Linked DNA regions of Homo sapiens: all the other regions are linked to region 2. The links are contacts of gene promoters, found by promoter capture Hi-C in blood cells and fetal thymus (Javierre and others, 2016). All regions are on one chromosome and are shown on one strand. The core of a region is centred on a gene start or on the middle of the fragment in contact, and the rest is flanking DNA. Distances in the headings are between cores, read along the strand shown.

What was found. The method cuts DNA at HindIII sites, captures the fragments that hold promoters and counts their contacts. A CHiCAGO score of 5 or more calls a contact.
Region 1: a contact is called between a fragment that was not itself captured here and the fragment with the promoter of RAB9B in region 2, in 7 of 17 cell types (fetal thymus, naive B cells, total B cells and 4 more). The highest score is 11.7, in fetal thymus.
Region 3: a fragment that was not itself captured here is called in contact with the fragment with the promoter of RAB9B in region 2 in 1 of 17 cell types (naive CD8 T cells); the score reaches 5.8 in naive CD8 T cells.
Region 4: a contact is called between the fragment with the promoter of RAB40A here and the fragment with the promoter of RAB9B in region 2, in 17 of 17 cell types (naive CD4 T cells, total CD4 T cells, total B cells and 14 more). The highest score is 22.7, in naive CD4 T cells.
Region 5: a fragment that was not itself captured here is called in contact with the fragment with the promoter of RAB9B in region 2 in 1 of 17 cell types (naive CD4 T cells); the score reaches 7.0 in naive CD4 T cells.
Region 6: a fragment that was not itself captured here is called in contact with the fragment with the promoter of RAB9B in region 2 in 3 of 17 cell types (fetal thymus, naive B cells and total B cells); the score reaches 6.2 in fetal thymus.
Region 7: a contact is called between a fragment that was not itself captured here and the fragment with the promoter of RAB9B in region 2, in 15 of 17 cell types (activated CD4 T cells, total B cells, naive CD4 T cells and 12 more). The highest score is 21.5, in activated CD4 T cells.

Annotation. Positions count from the first base shown.
Region 1 is chrX:104,166,896-104,170,560 of GRCh38, forward strand. FAM199X (family with sequence similarity 199, X-linked) reads left to right here. Exons shown (of 6, transcript NM_207318.4): 1 at 1-87. Among named protein-coding and RNA genes, the nearest start is that of FAM199X, 2.3 kb to the left of the region's middle. The HindIII fragment of the contact is 1,720 bases long and covers 726-2,445 here.
Region 2 is chrX:103,830,273-103,833,860 of GRCh38, forward strand. RAB9B (RAB9B, member RAS oncogene family) reads right to left here and starts at 1,985. Exons shown (of 3, transcript NM_016370.4): 1 at 1,788-1,985. The HindIII fragment of the contact is 1,396 bases long and covers 1,358-2,753 here.
Region 3 is chrX:103,469,843-103,473,390 of GRCh38, forward strand. The region is part of intron 4 of LL0XNC01-250H12.3 (a long non-coding RNA gene); the gene reads left to right. Among named protein-coding and RNA genes, the nearest start is that of RAB40A, 48 kb to the right of the region's middle. The HindIII fragment of the contact is 170 bases long and covers 1,511-1,680 here.
Region 4 is chrX:103,518,150-103,521,519 of GRCh38, forward strand. RAB40A (RAB40A, member RAS oncogene family) reads right to left here and starts at 1,340. Exons shown (of 3, transcript NM_080879.3): 1 at 1,221-1,340. The HindIII fragment of the contact is 4,467 bases long and covers 415-3,370 here.
Region 5 is chrX:103,487,396-103,490,953 of GRCh38, forward strand. All of the region lies in intron 5 of LL0XNC01-250H12.3 (a long non-coding RNA gene), which reads left to right. Among named protein-coding and RNA genes, the nearest start is that of RAB40A, 30 kb to the right of the region's middle. The HindIII fragment of the contact is 5,359 bases long and covers 1-3,558 here.
Region 6 is chrX:104,193,179-104,196,446 of GRCh38, forward strand. FAM199X (family with sequence similarity 199, X-linked) reads left to right here. Exons shown (of 6, transcript NM_207318.4): 6 at 1-2,724. Among named protein-coding and RNA genes, the nearest start is that of FAM199X, 28 kb to the left of the region's middle. The HindIII fragment of the contact is 1,633 bases long and covers 1,013-2,645 here.
Region 7 is chrX:103,550,389-103,553,616 of GRCh38, forward strand. The region is part of intron 1 of LINC02589 (long intergenic non-protein coding RNA 2589); the gene reads right to left. Among named protein-coding and RNA genes, the nearest start is that of LINC02589, 3.0 kb to the right of the region's middle. The HindIII fragment of the contact is 205 bases long and covers 1,471-1,675 here.

The DNA.
Region 1 (3,665 bases), core at 336-2,835, 340 kb after region 2:
GCCGGGCTGCCTGGACATCAGCGACTTCGGCTGCCAGCTGTCCTCCTGCCATCGCACCGACCCGCTCCACCGCTTCCACACCAACAGGTACGAACTGCACCTGAGGGCAGGGGTGGATTTTCCACTTCTGGTCGCCCCCCGCTCCTGATCCTTCGTCCCGGGCTGCGCTTCCAGTCGCCCCCTCCCCCACCTGCTTTCGACCAGCGCTCATTCCCGGCCTCCTTCCCTGCCCCCCCTCCCTATTTTCACCCCTGCCCTCCTATTTTCCTTTCGACCGGCGTTTTACTCTCTTTTCCTCATTCATATTCTGGCTATAGCGACTCCTCCCTTCCCTACCTTCTCCCTCCCTTGCTTCCCTTCCCTCCCCCCATCTGTACCCTACGAATCCCAAACCCCCACCCTTGATTTTTAGATACGCCCCTGTTTGCATCCATCTGCAAAAGTTTAACCCCTTCCATTTCCGGTACGCTGTAGAGGAATTTGGATGGCTCAAGATCAATCCATAGATCTTTTGAAAAGTGGCGTTGAAAGGTGGAACATTTAAAGCTAGAAGCTTCATTTTCCCTATTTTTAATCTGTCTCACAGTCCTGTTCCCCCCGCCGCCACCACCCCTACCCCATTTTTTTTTTTAGTTGAGCGCTAGGAAACTAGTCGATTCTCTCTTTTTTTCCTCCTCCTTTATTAACTGTTTGCCTTAGCGCTTTAGGCTCTGCCAAAATTGGTAAGCTTAAATCTGGAGGATTCCTTCATATGACATATCCCTTGGTTTCCTTCCCCTTTGAAGAGACAGAGTAAGGCTTAGGATGGACTGACTTACACAAATTTATTCAGAGGGTGTATCTCCTCCTAACTGATTTCAGTAGAAGGTAGTGTTCTGGAGACTTCTCTCATGCAAGCATTTACGTGTTAGATCAAATCTTGGGGGGTGGGTTGAAGACGTTCTAGATACAGCCTCAAGTTTTAACATAGGTGGATATTTGAGATACATATACAAAGGGCTGGGGGGGTGTGTGGTTAAGGCTCTAGGAGAGGGGTTCAGCTATGGAAAATACTGGAGATAAATTAAGAAATCTAGTTCTGACTTCTGATCCAAGTTTATGATGTGAGTTTGATCAAATTCTTCCATATTTTAATGTCTTTAGCATATTTCTCCCCTCCCTTCCCTTAAATCAGTCTGTAGATTGAATGAGCTTCTACCAGATACAAGGAATGTGTAAAAGATGTTTCTTACATAAATGAAAGTTATAGTCTATGGAAACAAGGTGTTATAGTTAAATAATCAGAATATCAGTATAACACATCTCAAAAGGAAGTGGCAGTAAATTTATTATGACTACTCTAAATCGTCATTGCAAAAAATGAAGAAACAGGCCCAGAAAGAAAAGATTGAGTTCAAGGTCATAAAACCTAGTCAAGCAAATCCAAGACTATTCCTTTGAAGCCAATGATTAAACTTGGAGCAGAACTAATTGATCCAGTGTTACAAATAGAACTTATGGTTTCCTAGACCAACTCACAGAAGCCTATTTAACCCCTGATGTCACTGTAATGTGAATGTAACATATTCATGAAATCAAGTGTGCTTAGGGTTATTTATGTTGAAAAATAATGTAAAAGAATACCTTTGTACATATTTGGCATTTAAGTTTTGCAGCCTTGGAGCAAGTCACATACCCAGGAAAGTTAAATAATTTCAGAATGATCCTGCTGTGATGATGAGGGCAAGGGAGTGAGGGCAGAGGCTGTGGGTAAGTACTGCCAAAACTGGGTAGAGGTGATGGGGAGTGAAGTTATGAGAATAATATGTTTCTTACAACTTGTTCTGTTCCTTCCTCCTCCCCGTTTTTTCCTGTGTTTTCTTTCCCTTAAAGACTGTGGTGAGGTCAGGACTGTTTTTCAATGGGGCAGTGAGGAGGGGAGAAGGAGGTTCTTTGCAAGCCCCAGTTTTTCCAAGTCAAGCATTTTTCCTAGTTACTGCTTGCTTTTTTTTTTTTTTTTTTTAACTTCCCTCTCCTACCCTACTTTTCGCAAGGCTTGGCATGGTGGCAGGGGTTCTAATGCTCTGTATCCTTTTCAGCAGAGAGTAGGGGAAGCAAAATTAGCGATATTCACAGCACATGATGTTTCTGTCCTAGGCTACCTTGCCTTTTAAATGTATTATCCTTCTGCAATGTTCTGCTTTCTTACCCCTCCTCAAGATGGTGCTTGAGAGGACCATAGGCTTCCAGCCATTTCTTTTCAGGGAGAAGCACACAGCTAAATCATATATCGGGCAAAGTTTAGGGAGTTCTTTTATTTTGGAGTTGTATGTGTCACTTTTTTCCTTCACATCACATCATTTGTCAATTCAGGCAACAACCCAAAAATCAGATTTCAAATAGTTGAGTGCTGAAATTCTGCCTTGGGTTTAGTGATTGTAAAACAAATTTTCATTGGAAGTAGGAAGCTTGTTAATTGGTAGATATTTGACTTAACCTTAATTTTGCTTCCTTCTTGGTACCTGATAAGAAAAATGTGGAGATTTTAAAAATAATGCACTTGATAAGGACCTTATGATTATGACAATTTTGTGCCTACTCATTTACTGGATTCTGGGCTATATTTGCAATTTTCATTAACAAAGACAGTCACAGCACTAACAGTCCCTGAGGTTGAATGGTTGCAATATTCAGATTTTTTTTTTTCTTTAAAGACAGAGTCCTGCTCTGTCATCCAGGCTAGAGTGCAGTTGCACAATCTTGGCTTAGGGCAACCTCCGCCTCCTGGGTTCGAGCGATTCTCCTGCCTCAGCCTTCTGAGTAGCTGGGACTATAGGCGTGTACCACTATGCCTGGCTAATTTTTATATTTTTAGTAGAGACAGGGTTTCACCATGTTGGCCAGGCTGATCTTGAACTCCAGACCTCAGGTGGTCCACCCACGTTGGCCTCCCAAAGTGCTGGGATTACAGGTGTGAGCCACCGCGCCCGGCCCAGTATTCAAATTAAAGTCATTTGTGATGTAGGTTGGTATGTCACTGGTCTAGGTTCAGTAGAAAATACATTACATGGACACAGCCAGTTTCCTAAGCATTCATACCTTAAGACCTACATGGATTGGTCTAGAATTTTAGGAAAATAGAATAAATTTCAATAAGCCAAAAAAGTGAATGAATTTTTTAAAAATGTGAAATGTCAGTGTGGAACATATGTAGTGTTTAAGACATTTTCTTTGGTTTTGGGGGCAGTGATTTTCTGATGTAAATGGAGGTTTTCTCTTAGCACTTCCAAACTATTGCATAAATCTTTTACTCAGTTATGTGATTTTAGAGCTCCGTTTTCAATCACCATTAACCAGAAAAACCTAAAGACTATTGTGTGCCTTTGGTAACACCCATAGTTTTCCTATCTAGATACAGAATTAGAGGTGCAGAAGAGCTGTGGGTTGCAGGTGGGAGAACCATGTTGGAGGAATTTGGTTTGGGGACTTGCTGAGACAAGTTGAAAATGGGGGGTTAGGATTTGGAGAAATATCCAAGCTAGAAATACAGATTTGGGAGTAATCAGTAGAAGTCCGTGACGTGATAGAAGTGGAACTACAGGTTACAAAGGTTGAGAGAGTGGAAGGTTTTCAATAAATTTAGCAGGGAAAGAAAGGAGAAGGGGAGATGTTGTGAGAATTTGAAA
Region 2 (3,588 bases), core at 735-3,234:
ATTAAAAAGAACTAGCACAGTGTAAAAGCAAATGAAATCATTTTTTCCTCCCCCAGAATATGCCGGATTTAATCCAAACCTTTAAACAAGGTAACATTAAGCAGGCAAATGAATTCTTTGATAACACTAAATACGTAAATAGGAAAGTCAAATGACGTATGCATCCCTTATGGGTCCTCTGTCGGGCGAGCATTTGGACCAAAACGCTTATTCTGATTTTGATCCCATTCAGAGAAAGATCTGACTCTAACTGAGTAAAATATTCGAGAGACGCAATTCCCCTTTCCTACCCCCACAAACTCATTAATGAGCATGCTCTAAGGATAGTTTACTAACTTTTTTTTTTCCCATCAGGGTCTCAGTCTTGGAGAGTAAGGTGAATTAGGAATTTCCATAACCAATACTCCCCAGCTCTTTGTTCTTTAACACACTTGAAACCTTCTGAATCTGCAGTACCCACAAAGCCTTATTCAAATTATTGTATTTAGTTGGGAATGCTTAGAGGTGGGAGTGGAGGTGGGGGAGGAGGCAGTACAATGAAGAAAAAGAAGTTGAACCTTTGAAAATAGTACATTTTAGTATGATGATGGAGAGAAGAGAGGCAGAAAAGCAAATTCGCATCAGTTCAGTTGCCATGGAGTGGAATGATGCTCAAAATCAGTAGTGCAGATTGCTCGGAGGCAAGTCTTGAAAGGGATGTGTACTGCAGGGATCGATAGGGGAAGAGCAACTGGGGAGGGCTAGGCACTGGATGAGAGTGGCACTGTTGGAAGTCTGTACAGGGGAGGAGCCATGGTTGGACCTGTGGGGAAAGCCCATCTTGTGGCGACACACTGGTAAGGGCTACTCAACTCACTGTTGAATGCTGGCACAATAATTGGAAATATTGCACTGAAGAATTGGGCGCGGCTATATTTATGTAAAATTCAACACGGATGAGAAATGATTGAATGTTTGAGTGTGTTTCCAATACAACCCAATACTTGGCGTTGGTGCTGGTGGTGGGTGCTTCGTAGCGCGGAAACCCTCTGACGCACTGGATTCATTTTGCAGAGCTAACAAGTTATCAGCTACATCCATGCCGACTCCAAATGCCACAGCTGTCATGCCACTGAAACGCTATTCCTACATTCATGCCCACATTTATATCCTATATGCAACTCAAAGGGTCCAATGTGGAGTCCCACATCTAACCTTTCACTGCTCACAACGACAGCTCTAGGGCTATAAGCCCAAAGGCACACTAGATAGCAATCTGGCATCGTCCCCAGGACACTTCTTCCTCAGTAGACTGCCCAGGGACAGATAGGTAGATAAGGTTTGGATGACATCAAGCGAGCTGAACACAAGGAAAAAAAGCTTCCTTGGGAGACAAGAATGCTGGCATCTCTACGACAGGGGCACTGTTAGCATTACGGACCTAGAAAGTGAGATGTCACACATAGTCCCAACTACCTCCGACCCAGGTCCTCTCACCTCACCCCCAGCTCTTAGAGCTAGTCGGCTGTGGCGCATGCGCACTGAGCCACACCCGCTCCCCACGGAGCCCTGCGCCTCTCTGCTCGGCTCTGGCAGCAGCTCGGGATTACTCAGCAACGCCCCCCTGCACTGTCACCTGCCCCCGACTCCGACCTCGGGAGCGGCTCAGTCCCTTTTCTCAAGCTACGAGTGGTCCTGGGGATCAACTAGACTTTCCTTTCTCCCTCTTCTCACAGGCCCCCCACCTCCCGGCCTTCCGGGTCCTCCAGCCCCTAGCCCCTGTTCCTGCCCACGCACAGGCACCTTACCCAACACAATGGGAAGGAAACAGGAGAGGGCCGCGGGTGCCAGGCAGGTCAGCTCTGCGTGCCGGGAATCCGGCTCCTTAGAGTCACCGTCACTGCTCCTGCTGCCTCCTCGTCCTCAATGGGGCAGCAAGTGCGGCTTGGACCTCGGTGGCCTGACAGCTGCCGCTCGCGCCCGCCGCTGCCGCCGCGCAGCGTCTCGAGCCCGCGCCCGCGCCCGCCAGGGGAGGGGGCGGGGCCCGCGCCGCCTCCTCGTGCCCCTTTCTCGGCGGTGGGGACCCGGTGTAGCCGCCTCCCGCCCTCCATGTGGCAAGCGCTCCCTGGCTCGCCCACTCTTCTTTCATGCTCATCGTCCAACCCTGGTCTCCCTTGTCCTCCTTCTCCTCCCCTAGCCGATTAGTAGGCACAGCGGCAATAGACCGTCAAATATTGCTCTTCCACTTAGCTCCTCTGCAGCCTGGGCCTAAGCCCTCAAGCAGGGCTAGCCACTGCCCCACTTCCTGCAATTATCCTCTGATCTACCTCATTTATCCTAGCTCAAAATCCTTTAATTTTGCCAAGAGGGTAGTACATACACCCTCTTGTTTCAAATAACTCAGGAAAACACATGATCACAACACATTGCTAGGCCCTCTAACTGGCTACAGCTTATGAAATTTTCAGGCAATTAAAAAAAATGTCCACATCTGTAGCGCAGGCATAGAGGACACACTGCCCTTTACTCTTACCAGATACAGTTCTAGAGGGCCACACAGGGGGCATTACTTGAATTTCCCGGAATTGCTGCTGGGGCAGAATTTGATGTTTTAATTGTGCCTAGCCGACCAGCTAGTCTCTTTTTGTTGTTTTCTGTAGCCCTCTGGTACTTCCAACTAGTTTGTGATTTTCCCCCTGGAATTGAAGAAGGACAAAGCTCCTGAGGTCATTTAGCCTGCACTCCACCTCTCTGTCAGGCAGCTCCATCTCTGAAGCTTCCCCATTGCCCGAAACCCTGTGACCTTGTGGCACAGGCCCTCACTCATCTCATGACCCCGTCCAGGCCCTCACACATACCCGCTACTTCCATCTAGGCCACTCTTCCTCTGTCTCTTGACAAGGCAATCGTGCAATCAATCTCCGCAGGCCCCAGCTTAAATGTCACTTCTCAGGATAACCTTTCTCGATAATCTCAGAATAGAGATGGTGCCCCAGTTTATACTCTTGTAGCCTCCTGTAACTTGCTGTATTTTTCCTTCATAACACTTACCCATTTTTGGTGGTACATTTAAGTGTATGATTATTTGGTTGACAGCTGTCTTCCCTACTAAACTATAGTGGGGAAGGACTATGAGGTCAAGGACAACGTTTGTGTTCACCACCGTATGCACAGAGCCTAGGGCAATGCTTGCTGCATAGGACATGCTCAGAAAATATTTGCTGAATATGAATGAATGCTGTATCACTAATAGTTGTTATATTTAAATAAAATAAATTGATGTAACTGAATCTCATGTGCTCCTATTTAAACCAACCCCGTTCCCCACACATACACTCTAAAACACTCTTCTGATGAAGACGAGATTCACACAATCCTCTAAATCAAATTTTCCGCATACATTTTAGTCTATTAAAAAACTATTGAGCATGGGCCCCAACATATGTATAAGGATTTATAGATTATATACATGTACTACTGTACATGTATACATTACACATTACTTTAAACATACATTTTAATGAGTAAACATTAAAATACTCCACAGAAATTTTAAAAGAATGAGAAAAATAAATATATTGATGTTCCAATGTTTTCTTTTTGCACCTC
Region 3 (3,548 bases), core at 346-2,845, 360 kb before region 2:
ACTTTTCTACTTATTGTAGAATGCTCCTCTGTTGAGGACCAGCCTCAACACCACCCGTAGGGTACCCAAAGTCCGGTGGCGATGAAGGAATGAGAAGAGACAGGTTAAGAGTGCATAAAGAGTGGGGGCCAGGGGACCAATTGCAAAATGGAGGCTGCAAAAGGCGCCAAGCTCTGGTCTCCACACTATTTGTTGAGTACAATCACTTAGATCTAAGAAGCAGGCGTTCAGGGCGAAACGGTGAAAGGGAGGCAGGTGTAATCTATAGCAAATGAATCTCCTTTGTGCTCAAACAGCGTATCTTTAACTTATGGGAGAGTAGCTAGTGGGAGCGGGCTTAACTAGGAGCCTGCACATCTGGCCATATTCCAGTGCTTCAAAGGAGTGTCTTTCTCCTTGAACACAGTGTTTATAGATAAGAGAGCAAGTCTCGCTCAGAGCATGGGAACATAATGGCGATAAGAAGACTTTCCTCCTCAGAGGCCTCTTGTGGCTTTCCACAACTTATTGTCCCATATTTTTATGGCCAGTTTATACAGGTACCCCATAAGCCTTTCTCCCAACACTCCCCAGCCAGACTACTTAACCTACAAACATTATTGCTTCTCTAGCTATAAAATCACATAGAGGTTATTACCTCTACCTCCTGATAATGTTGTGGAAATACATGAAATAAAAATGCACCAGCATTCAAGAAAGGTGAGTCCCCGTGACTCTCTTAGGTCAGGCATCCTGGCCTTCTATGGGATTTTTAAGCTCTCATCACCCATATGGCTCTGCAGCTTGCCTTTTTTCAGAAAAACAGCATCTATCCAGGTTTTTATTTGCATTTCATTAGTGAATGTGTTTTTAAATGTTTCTTGGGCATGTATATTGCTGTTTACATGAATTCTCTGTTTATATCTGTATTAGCTATCTTGCATAACCAATTACCTCCAAATTTTGCTACTTAAAGCAACAAACATATTAATACACATCATTTCTGTGGGTTAGGAATCATGGCACAGTTTAGGTTCTGGCTCAGAGTCTCTCACAAGGCTGCAATCAAGGTCTAGGTAGGGACTACAGCCATCTCAAGGCTCAACGGAGGGAGGATCCAATTCCAAGCTCATTTATATGGCTGTTAGCAGGCCTCAGGGCCTCAATAGTTCTTGGGCAGAGACATCGATTGTCACATGGATAGCTCATATCATGGCAACTGGCTCTCCTTAGCGCATCTATAAGAATGCACAACACAGCTTTTTGTCACTTGATCTCAGAAGTGACATCCCATCCCTTCTCACATATTTTAATTTTTAGTAGCAAGTCACTAACTCTAGCCCACACTATGGGACAGATTATACAGGGAGTGAATACACAAGGAAAATGGGGATCATAGGGGACAATTTTAGAGGGTGCCTACCATAACATCATCAGACCTTCTTTCCATATTGGCTACTGGGAATGCTTTATATATCATGAGAATTAGCTCCATATAATTTGTACATATTTACTCTAACCTACTGAGACAAGCTTTAATGATTTATTTTGTCATATACAGTGTTTTAAAATTTTCAATATTATAATTTAATATACAGATCATTATATAAATAAATTAAGCAATGACCAGGGCAGCATTGATTGTTATTGTCCAGGGAGATTAGAGCATTCAGATTCCTGGAGGCTTCAGAACACATGAAAAGCTTTAGTGAAATTCCAGACTCCACTCCTGAGGAGACAATAACCAAAGCAGTTTCTCTGGTTTACACAACCTCTCTTAATTTCCTATAACTTGATCTAAACTATGCATTTAATAATAGGTTACTTGAATAAATGTTAAGATTAAAGGAGATACAACTTAGAGTACATCTTCTTTATAATTAGTTTTGTCAACATTAGTTTCCTACCCTCCAGATCTTTGTCCCAGAGGAAGCACCTATTATTCTGAATAAGCCTGTCTGCCATCTTAAATGCCAGTCAATTCACATGATCCACATACCAAGGTCTCTTGGCCCCAAGCAGAGGATTTCACTTCCACCATCATCAACCTCATCATCATCACCAAAGGGGTTGTTGAGTGAACAGGCATGGGGATTGTACAATGACCAGTCCCTAACCCTTGGTGGGGCATCATATACAGAAGAGGTTGTTGGGTGCTATACTTTGAATGTCCCCTCCAATTGAAATATAACAGCCATTGTAACAGTATTAAGAAGAGGTGACTTTAAGCAGTGATTAGCCCATAAGGGATCCACCCTTATGAGTGGATTAATGCTGTTATTGTGGGAGTGGGCTAGTTATCATGAGAGTGGGCTCCTAAACTACTGAATGAGTTCAGTCCTACTTCCTCTTTCTGTCTCATGTGCTCACTTGCCCTTCTGCCAAGTTATGATGTAGCATGAAGGCCCTTGCCAGATGCTGGAGCCATGCTTTTGGACTTCCCAGTCTCCAGAACTGTGAGAAATAAATTTTATTTATTTATAAATTACCCAGTCAGTACTATTCTGTTATAACAGCAGAAAATGGACTAACAGAAAATTGGTACCGAGACATGGGCTGTGGCTATAACAAATACCTGAAAATGTGGAAGCAGCTTTGGAGCTAGGTAGTGATGGGTAGAGACTGGAAGAATTTGAATGAACAGGCTAGAAAAAGCCTAGACTGCCATAAATGGAGCTATAATGGCAATTCTGGTGAGGACTCAGAAGAGCAGAGCTGTAGGAAAAGTCTGAATCTTCTTAGATAGTATTTAAGCCTTAAAGTACTTCAAGGGATGGTGACCAGAATGTTGGTAGAAATATGGACAGTAAAGGCCATTCTGATAAAGTCTCAGACAGAAATGATGAACAGCCTGGGCACAGTGGCTGATGCCTGTAATCCCAGCACTTTGGGAGGCTGAGGCGGCTGGATCACCTGAGGTCAGGAGTTCGAGACCAGCCTGGCCAACATGGTGAAACCCTGTGTCTACTAAAAATAAAAAACAATTAGCCAGGCATGGTGGCAGGTGCCTGTAATCCCAGCTACTTAGAAGGCTGAGGCAGGAGAATCGCTTGAACCCAGGAGGCAGAGGTTGCAGTGAGCCAGGATCGCGCCATTGCACTCCAGCCTGGGCAACAAACTGCATTAAAAAAAGAAAGAAAGAAAAGAAATGAGGAACAATGTAGGAAACTGGTGTAAAGGCCATCCTGTTATAAAGTAGCAAAGACCTTGGCTGAATTTTGTCCATGTTCTAGGGCTTTATGGAATGCAGAACTTAAGAGTGATGAAGTAGGGTATCTGGTGGAAGAAATCTCTAAGCATCAAAGTATTCAGGCTGCCACACAGCTACTTTTAACCACATACAGTGAGATGTGAGAAGAAATAAGTGACTTAAAGTATGATTTGTAATTAAAAGAGAAGCAGAGCAAAAAAAATTAGAAAAATTTACAGCCTGGCCATGTAGAATGAAAAGGGTGTTCAGGAGAGAATACTAAGGGTGTGGCCAAGCAACTATTTGCTAAAGAGGTTACCATGGATGGAAGGGAGCCAGATGCTATTCATCAAGACAATGAGAAAAAGTCCCCCAAAGT
Region 4 (3,370 bases), core at 90-2,589, 310 kb before region 2:
CCACCAGTGTAGAATATGTCACCTTATATATATGGAATAGGAGAAAACTAATAGAAACATTCTATTTGCTTATATTTTTAAAATTGGAAAGTTTTAATGAAAATTGATTTAAAAAATCATTACCTATAAAGAGAAGGAAAAACAGCCCAGGACAGAAGCCAATAATGTCTTTTCCCTTAAAAATATAATATATATACACTGGCTCCATGCACTAGAAAGGTGAAGAAACATGATAGACCCAGTAGCAATGAGCAACTCTAGTGCCCATATTGAATCCACTTAAAACACATCACACTGAAAGGAACTAGGTTATCTTAGAGAAATGACTGAGTTTAGGTCTGTGTAGCCATTCTACTAGATGAATCTGGACCAAACTATCATGCCAGAGAGTGCGTCAAAAAGACTCAGAAGCCAAGCTTAAGGGGCTCTCGCTGGACAAAGATGAAGCAATTTGAACATTAAATAAAATAATGACTACTATGGATTAAAACACATTATAATATAAAAACTTCTACAGCTCATGATGACACTCTAAAAGAAAAATAAAATAAAACAAACAATATCAACTCATTGCTTGCCTTTGGAGAACCCTAGGGAAACAACTCATTGTTTTGAAAAGTGGAAATATTGCAAAAGAATTAGGCACTCATCCAACCCTTTCTATACATACTATCCCTCAGTGTAACCTAATGGTTTATGAAAGTTTATTTAATAGAATAATTCCAGCTAATAAAGCAGAGAAAATTATAGAATTAGAATATCATCCTTTTATGACCTTTAATGAATATAGAACTAAGCAACAATCCTTAGACGCTGCAGAAAAATCGAGGTGAAAAAGGGATGGGAAATTTTATAATGGATGGATCAGCTTAACAATACTTGAACATAGTAATTAATCTTAACATCACAAGAGGAGAGACAATTAGACACAATGAGCCCCCTGTGTAACACTATAGGAATAAACAATACCACATATGAAGTACTTCTGACCAAAACAAATCTAAATTGAATCAAGCCTCTGAATCTAACACCATTTTGTTAAATTTTTTTATTATACTTTTAAGTTCTGGGATACATGTGGAGAATGTACAGGTTTGTTACATAGGTATACACGTGCCATGGTGGTTTGCTGCACCCATCAACCCGTCATCTACATTAGTTATTTCTCCTAATGGTAATATAAAAAGAGAAAGAAATACTTGGAATTTGATTTGGAAAACCTTTCTCCTGTAGCCAGTCCACCTCCATGTGCTTGATACAGTTGACACTTCTTACCCTACAGGAGATTATTCAGCCTATCAGCCAATCTAGAAAATAAAATCATGAGGATCCATGTTTGGTGGTATAGGAACTATTAAGTTTATATTGGAACATTTTGCAAAACATGTTAAAATTAAGTTAAAATGAATGTGGCTCGAAATTAGGATTGTAAGATTTCGGATTTCAACTCAGTTTCCACAGAGAAGTTTGGTTGACCTAAATTTTAAATATGTTAGGAATAAGCCCCTGCTGCACATCATTATATTCAAAGTTCTCTGTAGCTTCATTTGTGAAAACAAATGGATGAATGGGTATATATTTGTAAAACATGTCTTTGGGATAAAAAGGCATTTTGAGTTCTTGGTTTTCAGGATGTTCCTTCTGGTATTCTTCAAATAAATGCTTCTATAGTATTATAAAGATAATTTCATTAACCTGCTAAAATGGGAATGTATTTGTCTATAGCTACAAGGTAAAAAGTGTTATGAATAATAATTTTAAGATGACAGATATTAAATAGTTCAAATATTATTGATAATAAGATTTTTTTAAAAAAGAAAATATATGTTCATCCAAAAGAATGAACATGAACATTCATAACACCATTATTCATGAGATGTCAAAAACTGGAAAATACACAAATCTCCATCACAGATAAATATAGTGTGAAATATCCAAATAATATAATACTTTACACCAATGAGAATAAGCAATCTACAATATAGACCACAATAAATATTAATTTCACATACATTATGTTGACTGAAAGAAGCAAGACACAAAAGAGCACATGCTGTATGATTCCAAGAATTTCTCTTCTAACCTCCCAATAGAGATTGGGGCAGGAGAGGAATATCAACAACTCATTTCCTTTTATTTCAAGGTACTTAGTGTCTTTTTATGTTATCTGTAGCTTAACCTCAGATAAGTGAAGCAACTTTCTTCTGAGCCCTTGAAAAGTGATTAATTACACATAAGATGAAAAGCTAATACTATATCTGATGGACAGGCAATGTGGTGTGAGAGATTCGGGCAAGAATCCTAAATGGATGCTCAGTCTGCACCAAATCACACCGCAGTCACTGAGTCACCATGGTAACCATTCTGGCCAAGGAAAGCTGAGAAAAAACAAACACCACTATCCCGAGCTTGTTCCTAATATGTACTAGGAACTAAATAGGATTGACATGATGCACAGTAATTAACCTCAAGTAGTCCTTACAATAAAAATTCCTGACAGCTTCAGTGACATACAAATGTATACATACTCACATACATATATGCTTGCTCACCCTCTCACCACTCCAAATTCCAAGAATTTATTGAGGTTGATTTACTGGTGGGTAAAGAAGTAAATCTCGCCAGGCATGGTGGCTCGTGGCTATAATCCCAGCTACTCAGATGGCTGAGGTAGGAGGATTGCTTGAGGTTAGGAGTGTGAGAGAAGTCTAAACAACATAGCAAAACTCTGTCTCTGAAAAATGTTTTTAAGTTTAGCTGAGCATGGGGGCACACACCTGTAGTCAGTTATTCAGGAGGCTGAGGTGAGAGGATTGCTTGAGCCTGGGAGTTCAAGGCTGCAGTGAGCTATGATTGCACCATTGCACTCCAGCCTGAGCCACACATTGCAACAAAATCATTTCTGACCACACATATAAAGTTGAAAGCTACTAAACTATGTTCTTTTGGTGTGATTTCTGAAGATGACCTGTAGAATTGTCTCTGGAACATTTTCCTCCATAGTTTCAATATATCGCCAATGACTTGTAAAAGCAGATACGGAAATACAGGTAAACACAGGTTAAGGATCAAATACCTTTTCCATCCTAGAGTAAGCTGTGCTTTCAACCAAAAAAATGCCTCACTGATGTTAAACACTTGGTTGCTGATAGTACTGTGAAAATATAGTAATTAGCAATTGTGTTTAACAAACAAAGCCATGTATAGCATCATCAAGAGTATGAAATATTTATGAACAATCTGTCCACAGATGTGCAGTGCCTGTACACTGAACACCACACATCATTGCTGAGAGAATTAAAGACCTAAATAAGTGGAGGACTTACCATGCTCATGGGTCACAAACAATACTGAGAAGATTCAGTATTGT
Region 5 (3,558 bases), core at 247-2,746, 340 kb before region 2:
ATCATTCTGACCATTATTCAGATCAGTGTGCTGTCTTTAGGGGAGTTTATGTAAGTCAGGGAAACAACCTAGTTGTCCTGTGATCATCAGCTAACTCTGGAATACTCCAAAGTTGTATCATTTTCTCTTGATGTCTCCAGGGCTCTGAATGTTCTAATCTCCCTGCAGGCTGATAGCGCCTGCTCCTCATGGTGTTATTCAACATTTTTTCTTTTTAAATTATGACCTGTATATTTTTGTCACATTATTGACATTTAAAACACTTTCTCAGTAAAAATAAGGCTAAACATTTTTTAACTTAAGGGAGAAAACATTTGCAAACTACATCTCAGATACTGGGTTAGTATCCATGATTTGTGAACCACATTCTGTAACAAAATGACTGGCAGCTGTTTTCAACAGACATTCTCATTAAAATGTACATGAACAATAAACATGTTAAAATATGTCAAAACTGGAAGTACTAATAAGATGCAAATATAAATCTTCAAGAGAATATTATGTGGAAGAAAAAAGTTGCAAAAAAAATTAGTACTGTGATTCACTTTTGGAACAGATTGTGTGTTTGCGTGCACCTCACCTACAGGGACACATCTGGAGAGTATGCACCATTCTGTTGACAACAGACCCTTTTGGGTCAGAGGGTAGGCTTCAGGCCAGTGAGATATGCAGATTCATTTCAATTTATAAATATACTTTTATACATTGTTTGAAATTTTGTATTTAGGGAAAAAAGCATTTCAATAAATACTTTTGAATAGATTGGCAACAGTAATTGTAATGTATTTCATTAATTCGAAAGTACATTCATTGTATTCAATTTTGTATTGAGACAAAGTAGATAAAAATGGAATTGATAATGTCTATGTGTGTGAGTGTGTGTGTGTGTGTGTGTGTGTATCTTCTCTTGCTCTATCACCCAAATAAACATACGTGCAGCTTTACCTTTAATTCAGACAGGGGATGGAACCAATATCAGTTTTAGATATCCCAGAAAATAGTGGATACAGAGAGACAGCTACCATGAGCTGAATAATTCCGGAAGACTCCAGCTGATACCTTCTGGGAGCCAAATTCCCAAACTCCATCCCTCTTTCCCTCTTACCGAGGCCCTTGGCTGACAGAGATGCAATCCTGTCTCTGGGCACCAGATGGCATCGATCTCTTTATTTTTTTTTTTTTAATAAAAAGGAGTATATTTTGTAGAGTAACGAAGGACTTAAAATGGTTTGTTTACCATGATCATAATTCTGTGTGCAAAATTCATATATTTTATTTATTTATATAAATATATTTATGAATTTATACAAACTATATGAATTTTATTTATTTATATACTATATATTATATATCATATATACAATATATTATATTGTATATATAATATATCATATATTGTGTATATATCATATATTGTGTATATAGTATATATTATATATAATATATTATATATTGTATATATAATATATTGTGTGTATGTAATGTGTATTATATATTATATTATATATATTATATATGTTATATATTGTATATATTATATATCATATGTAATATATTACATATATATCGTGTATATATTATATATTGCATATATAATATATGTTATATATAATATGTTATATATAATGTATGTATGTGATATATTACATATTGTATGTATGTGATATATATTGTATGTATGTGGTGTATTATATATTGTATGTAATATATTATATTGTATGTATGTGATATATTATATATTGTGTATATATGATATATATTATATATTGTATATATATATATAATATATATTTTAAAGCAGTTGCATTATGGTGCTCCAAGAATCTCATCGCATTCACTGATTTATCTTTTCCTTCCTCAGGGTAGGTTGAGGTGTCCACACTGTAGAGGGGTCCCTCCCTCCCAGAGAGCAGGCAGTTTGCCCTCCGTTACCCCACTCCTGTACAGGCTTCCCAGACCTTCTCCACCCACTTTCAGTCATCCCCTCTCTGGGACACTGTGGACACAGCCACCCAGACTCAGTTCCACCTCCCTCATCATTTCTTAGTCACCTTACGCCTGCCCCTGTGCTGTCCTATGCCAGCCGGTGGCTCCCAATGTGTGCTAGAGCTACCTGGTGTTTCATAGTATGGATGCCCCCAGAGTATATTTATTTAGTGTTCTTTTGCATCTGTCAGTTTTTTCAGACAGAAAATTTTGAAAATAGGTTCACAAGCTGTGTTTTAAGGGAGGTATGGTATTTCTTTTTTTTTTTTTTAATTTTTTTTTTATTAAAGTTTTAGGGTACATGTGCACAATGTGCAGGTTAGTTACATATGTATACATGTGCCATGCTGGTGCGCTGCACCCACTAACTCGTCATCTAGCATTAGGTATATCTCCCAATGCTATCCCTCCCCCCTCCCCCCACCCCACAACAGTCCCCAGAGTGTGATATTCCCCTTCCTGTGTCCATGTGATCTCACTGTTCAATTCCCACCTTTTTGCTCATTGTATATATTGCTTTGCAGTCTGATAATGGTGATATGTTAGTGCCCCCTCGTGACAGAAGCCTAAACTGCAGCTTGAACATCCGGGAGCAGGAAAGTGGGAGGAAGGGGTTGTGGCCCAAGCCCACCCCACAGAGCTTTCTATAAGTCTGGGTGGAACAGAAGTATATCCAGTGTTCAGGGATACTGATGGCCAAACAGAAAGTCCAGCCTCTTACTATGCTAAATAGAAAGCTATATTTGAGAGGAATAAAAAAAATCATTTTTATTTTTATGCTTTCAGACCTATGGATATATAGCAATAGACCTATACAAGCAAAAATAGATACAGAACTACTTCTGACTTTTGTGGGGTTTTTCTCGTCACCCAGGCTGGAGTGCAGTGGTGCAATCACAGCTCACTGCAACCTCTGCCTCCCAGGCTTGAGCGATCCTCCAGCCACAGCCTCCCAAGTAGCTGGGACTACAGGTGTGAGCCACCACCCCTAACGAATTTTTTTTTTTTTTTTTTGAGACGGAGTCTCACTGTCTCCCAGGCTGGAGTGCAGTGGCGCCATCTCGGTTCACTGCAAGCTCGGTCCCCCGGGTTCACGCCATTCTCCTGCCTCAGCCTCCGGAGTAGCTGGGACTACAGGCGCCTACCACCACGCCCGGCTAATTTTTTGTGTGTGTATTTTTAGTAGAGACAGGGTTTCACCGTGTTCGCCAGGATGGTCTCAATCTCCTGACCTCGTGATCTGCCCGCCTCGGCCTCCCAAAGTGCTGGAATTACAGGCGTGAGCCACCGCGCCCGGCCACCCCTGACTAATTTTTATATTTTTTGTAGAGACAGGATTTCACCATGTTACCCAAACTGGTCTCGAAATCCTGAGCTCAAGGGATCCGCTCACCTCCGTCTTCCAAAGTGCTGGGATTACAGATGTCAGCCACTGCACCCGGCCATACTACTTAGGACTTTTGTAACCTGTGTTTGCCTTTACTATGACCATCTTTCAAATTCAATTTCAATTTTTTGTATAGAGTTGGTGTTTCATCATATGATGCCCTAAACTTTATTTTCCCAGTACTC
Region 6 (3,268 bases), core at 579-3,078, 360 kb after region 2:
GATATCAGTAAGCAAAGCCATTAAATCGAACCAATCAATGCTAATAGAGTATAAAAACAAAAACCTTCAAATTTTAAGTTTCATTTGTGTAACTTTATTTTCGGCCTAGCTAGATCATTGAAGAGCCTTGAAAGTTATCTAAAGTATGGCTTAATGTATTTTTTTCCCTCTGAAAAAGATCATATGCCAGGATACTTCTTCAAACCAGATCACTTTTAATATCTAGAAAGATAATTTTCAAGGTATAGGCAAAAGCACTTCAAGGACAGAGATTATGTAGCAAGTTGATTCTCTAGGAATTCTTTGAACTCATTTGTGTAATAGCTGGAACACACTCCTCTTCTTTCCTTTAACAAATGAACTTTTAGCACTTCTGTCTTCAAGGAAAAACATTTGTTTGGAATTGAAGGGTACTCGCAGTCCGTTTATAGTTTGGGACAATTAATAGGAAAATCCCCAGTTGCATTCAAATAATAGTGTTGATGTTGAGGGCACTGACTCATTCAGCATGTCTGAACTAGAAGTAAATTTAATTCTGAAAGGACTGTTAGTTAGGAAATAAGTATTTGTATACATATGTACTGTGGTAACTTTGGATTCATTTTAAGTCTGATAAAGTAAGATAAACTTTGTCTTAAAAATAAAATTATGCTAAGTGAATAAAAACTGAGATATTTTAAGCTAGGCATCTTTGTTAGCATAGTATCCGGAACATAACTACTTATAATGCTTAGGTCTTATTTCTTTGGAAAATAAGTTACTTATTCCAGAAGCCTTAGAAGGAATTCTGAAAATTCTTCTAACTGGCCATTAAGAGTAAGGAAGTTGAATGGTACTGCTGAAGATCTGAGTTGACTCACTGAAATTTTATTTTCTTATTTTTTTAACATTAAAATTATTTCTTTTTGGCTCTCCCTCTAGTTATTTTTTAAATTAAGGTAATTACTGTTTTAACCTAGAGCATATAATGGCAAATTAAATTTTAATTTGACACTCATACCGAACTCAGAAAAGCTTGTTTGATCTTCTCTAAATTCTGTATGTAGTACTTTTTTTAATTGTCACATTTCTTTGTTACATCTTTGTGTCCAACAAAACCTGTGGAAATCTGTGTTCATTTTTGTGGTGAGGGATGGGGGTGAAAAAGGGGAGACTTGCTCTAATTATGCATATACATTTGACTATGTAAAGGTAGTTGTAGACTATATGTATAAATAACAAGTTAACACTTAATATTCTAAATTGTTCTAAGGAACAGTGGCCTGAAGCCATGACTAGTTTTGTGGAGCTGCTGGCTCTTTTAACAGTAGCTGACCTATTGGATTTAAACTGAGACTGAAATTGACATTTGTGGTTAGGTTATCTAGCTGAGGCTTTTAACAATGGAGCAGATAATGTCTGTTCCTGTAGTGGATCCATTTAATTTCCTATTTGAGTACTCTCACTTAACAAGTATTATCTATTCTGAACCTTTGTGTTGGGAATTTAAGGACTATTGTCAAAGGCTATTAATGGTAAACAAGTATATGCAAAACAATTCACATATGGGTAAAAATTTCAAATTGTGGGTTTTTGTTTTTGCTTTTTAGTTTCAAAGATTAGTTATGTAGCAGCAATATCATAACCAAAGCAAGTAGGAAGTTGACTGGTTTGGAGAATCTTCAAGTAGTTTTAAATACTGTAATGTATCAGATTGTTAACCAGGATTTTTTTTTCCTGTATTACTGCTAAATATATTACTATATTAATGCACTTTTGTATATATAACTGTCTTCTGTACATTCTGTACTTACTACAGTGTATATAAAGCCTGTTTTCCCTGAAGCTGTGAGGGAATAACAATAGTTGTATCATAAGTCGTTTCTATTTTGAGTTCCTTCTTGTACTTGAAAGTAGTTCAGTAGTGAAATCTAAATGAGTGTGTATGGTTGTAATTAAAACTGGCAATGTGGCAGAGCTGTCTTTTGAAACTGAATACCAGAATGAAAAGTGTTGTTTTGGTTAAGAACTCTTATAATATATTATTTCTTTTGATGTACCCTGAGTTGTTACACAGCCCACTCACTGCTGCTTACTACTTTATACTTCTGAGTCAGCTCCTTTCATGCTCTATCCCAGAATATTTACCAACAGAGGAGAACTGCTCCCTTTTCTGTTTCTCACAGTTTGGTTATGGCTTTATAAACTTTTATTTGGTGAAAGCCCCAGATACCCAAATGTCATTGGCAAAACTTATTTTTTTTTCTGGACAGATCAGATTTCTAGAGAGAGCAGATTTCTAGAGAGATTAGCATTCATAGTAAGTGAAAATTGTCTAATTTTTTTAATCCATGCTATTACTGGGCAGTAGGTCTAATTTTTTTTGACAAAAAATAGATCTATTTTCCTTATATATTGATTTAGAATCTTAAGTTAGAATTTTATAGAAGAAATGTCTGAGCAGTTCTATGTATGGAGGAGCAATTCAGCTTTTCAGCAGCAACTTTATCTTTTGCCACTAGAGGGAGATCTGTGGTTGCTTTCTCCTTTGGAGAATAGCTGCTTTGCTTTTATTTTTAATTTCTAAGGTTGGAATAGAACTTATTCTCAAAATTCCTTTAGTGTTATTAAATATTTTCATTTATTAGTCAAAGGTAAGTTAATTAAGCTTGTTTAATGATGCCAATCTTATGCTTTTCTGTAATCTTCAATTTTTAATAAATGTGAGTTAGATACTAAGTGAAATGTGCGTGTGTGTGTTTCTTCTCTTAGGTACTCTAGAGCTCCATATGTGGCTAGTGACTACCATAATGGGCAGTGCATAATGTACTATCCATTATGGTAGTCACTAGCCACATATGTCTATTTAAATGAATTAAAGTTAAGTAAAATTTAAAATGTAGTTCTTTAGTCTCCTTAGCAATTCTTCAAGTATCCAGTAGCTACCATGTGGCTACAGGCTATTTACTGTATTGAAAAGCATGAGATGTAGAACATTTCCATCATCACAGAAAGTTCTGTTGGACAGTGCTGCTCTAGAGATTTGCTGGTTTATGTAGTGATCATTATCATCATTTTATCAGTGAACAGTAATTAGTGGCTAAAAAACTGCTGCCCACAGTTAACTGTTGTAGGTGATTGGTGTGAGAGGGAGATTAAACTTTTTCTTTTTTTTGAGACAGGGCCTCGCTCTGTCACTCAGGCTGGTATGCAGTGGTGTGATCATAACCCACAACAGCTTTAACCTCCCAGGCTCAAGCGGTCCTCCCACCTCAGCCTCCGAAGTAGC
Region 7 (3,228 bases), core at 323-2,822, 280 kb before region 2:
AAAACTCCACAATTAAAATCTACCCACACACAAAGTCAAGAGCTACAAAACTATTTTATTTTAGTAATTCATTTTTCTGGAGATGATCTTTAGAAAAATGTCTCAGTGACATTTTCTCCCTGGTTTCAGTATATTACCAATGACTTATAAAAGCTGATAGTGGAAACACTGGCAAATGTATGCTGTGATGACTAATTTTATGTGTCAACTTGGCTGGGTCATAATGCCCAGATATTTGGTCAAACGTTATTTTGGATGTTTCTGTGAGGGTGTTTTTGGATGAAATTTACATTTAAATTGGCAGACTAAGTAAAGCAGATTGCCCTCCCCAGTGTGGGTGGGCCTCATCCAGTCAGCTGGAGTCCTAAATAGAATAAAAAGCTGATATCCTCCAAAGAAGAGGGAATTCTGCCAGCTCACTCTTCAGATTTCATCTGTAATATTGGCTCTTCCTGGTTTATCAGTACACCGCCTTTGGACTTTAACTTCAACTCTTTCCTGAGTCTGAAGCCTGCTGGACTCCCCCATCAAATTTTGGACTCACCAAGCGTCCAAAATCACATACACCAGTTCCTTAAAATAAATATCTTTATATGTATATATATAAAGATACATATATAAAGATATATGGATATATAGATATCTTATTGGTTCTATTTCTCTGGAGAACCTTGACTAATACAGACATTAAGTATTAAGCATCTTTTCTATCCTAGAGTAGCCTGTGCTTTCAACCAAAAAGGTTCCCCAGCAGCTAGTATTAAACACTCAGCTTCTGACAATTCAGTAAAAATATAATACATTGAAATTGCAATTGAAAATACTACCATTAGGCCAGGCATGGTGGCTCATGCCTATAATACCGGCACTTTGGGAGGCCAAGGTGGGAGGATTGCTTGGGACCAGGAGTTTGGGACCCACCTGGACAACAAAGCAAGACCCTACCTCTATTAAAAAAATTTTTTTTAATTTTTTAATTAGCCAGGCATGGTGGCATGCACTTGTGGTCCCACCTGCTCGGTAGGCTGAGATGGGTGGATCACTTGAGCCCAGAAGCCCAAAGCTATAGTGAGCTGTGATCATACCACTGCACTCTAGCCTAAAAAAAGAAATACTGCCATTTATAATAGCATCAAAAAGTGTAAAATACCTGAGGATAATCTGTCCACATGTGTGCAAGGCCTGTACATTGAACACCACAAAACATTGAGGAGAGAAGTTAAAGAAGACCTAAATAAATGGAGAGAAATGCCATCATCATGAGTCAGAACACTCAGTATTGTTAAGATATCTACTCTCCTCAAACTGATGTATAGATTCTATGCAACTCCAATAGAAATGTTAGCATATATTTTTAAGAAGAAATCAATAAACTTATTCCAGAAATCATGTGGAAATGCAAATGACCCTAAACTATGAAAAACAACATTGTAAAAGAACAAAGTTGGAGGAAAAACACTACCTAATTTAAGCTTCATTATAAACTTACATTAACCAAAACAGTGCACTATTGCCTTCAAGGAAGAAATGTATATCAAAGGAACAAAGTATAGAGTCCAGAAATAGACCCACAAATATAAGGACAACTGATTTTTGACAACAATGCAAAGACAATTCAGTGCAGAAAGATCATCCTTTCAACAACTTGTGCTGGAACAGGTAGATAACAAAAATAAGCTTTTATCTATACACCACATCATAAAAAACTCAAAGTGGATCATAAAAGAAGATTTAAATTTAAAAGCTAGAACTATAAATTTTCAAGAAGAAAACACAAGAGAAAATTGTTGCAGTCTTGGCTTCAGAGAAGATTTCTTAGATATGACACAAACAGCAACATCCAAAGCATAACAAATTTGGAACTATTCATATATACAACAATATGGATAAATCTAAAAATAATTAGGTCAAATATGTAAAATAACATGAAATTTCAGGATTCCCAAATTCATCATGCCAAGGGAAAAGTTAAGCCTGGGAAATGAATTGTGCAACATTACCAACCTTTGTCCCCAGATAACTGTAATTTCACAACCCTGTGTCATAGCGTAATACATAATCCAGATTCCCACAACAGTAAAAGGCATTATACCTTCCCAGATGACCTTCCTCAAATATTGCTCACAAGGAAATTCCTTGCTAGCCCCTAAATCTTTCAGGATACATATCCCCCTATAAAACCAGCACATGCCAATTGTAACCTTAAGTCTGCAACCTAAGTTTAACTCCTAAAACTGAGTTTTGTTAAATCTTACACTGACAGTGTCAGTTACAAGCTTATCTTTCCAGAACAAAGACAAGATCAATCACTCTTCCACCTACCCTGAAACGAATACATAATTGACTCTTTCCTCTCTCTTTTCAAATCTTATCTTATGTAAAACTCAGATTTACTGACCGCTAATTAGAGCCTCACAAGAATGTAACCATTTGCCTCACTGCCTACCCTCTCTCCCTTTTTCCCTCTTGCTTGCTCTCTGCCCTTAAATACTGAGTTCCCAAACCCCTCTTTGTAAAGCACAAGTCAGAGATGCTCCTGTGACTTGCAGTTTTCCCAGGCATGTCCTCAAACTTTGGCTCAATAAACCTCTAGTGATTGAGACACTTGCCTCAGTCACTTTTTTTGGGGTTAACAAATGAATTAGGTCAGACAAAGGAGAATAAGCATCCTATGATTCCATTTACTTAAAAGGGCAAGAAACAAAAACTAATCTATGGTAAGAGGAGACCAGTGATTGTCCGGGAATGGGACAGGTTGGCATGGAGAGGGAAGCTAGAGACAGATGGAGAGGATTACAAAGGTGCATAAGGAAGCTTTTTGAGGTGATGAATATGTTCATTATCTTGACTATAATATTGGATTCACCAGAGAGAGCATACATATGTTAAAACTTATTAAACTATATATTTTAAACATGTACGGTATATCGTATGTCAACATGGCTCAAAGAAAGTATTTGAAATACATTTGTATAAGTTTTTGATGCAATTAAATCATCCAAAAGATTCCAACTACTACACTCTTGTTATATTACCAGATCATTACTATGTCTGATCAAATTGTTCTGCACTACATACAACCATAATAATCACTTGCAGTGTTTAAATATTTTTGGAAAAGTGGATGTTCATTTCTTTTTGAAGTACAAAAATAAAAATATTACATTCTAAGAAAATAATGATGATGATACTTAAGAGTAACTGTTTACTTTAGGGAACATGGCTTAG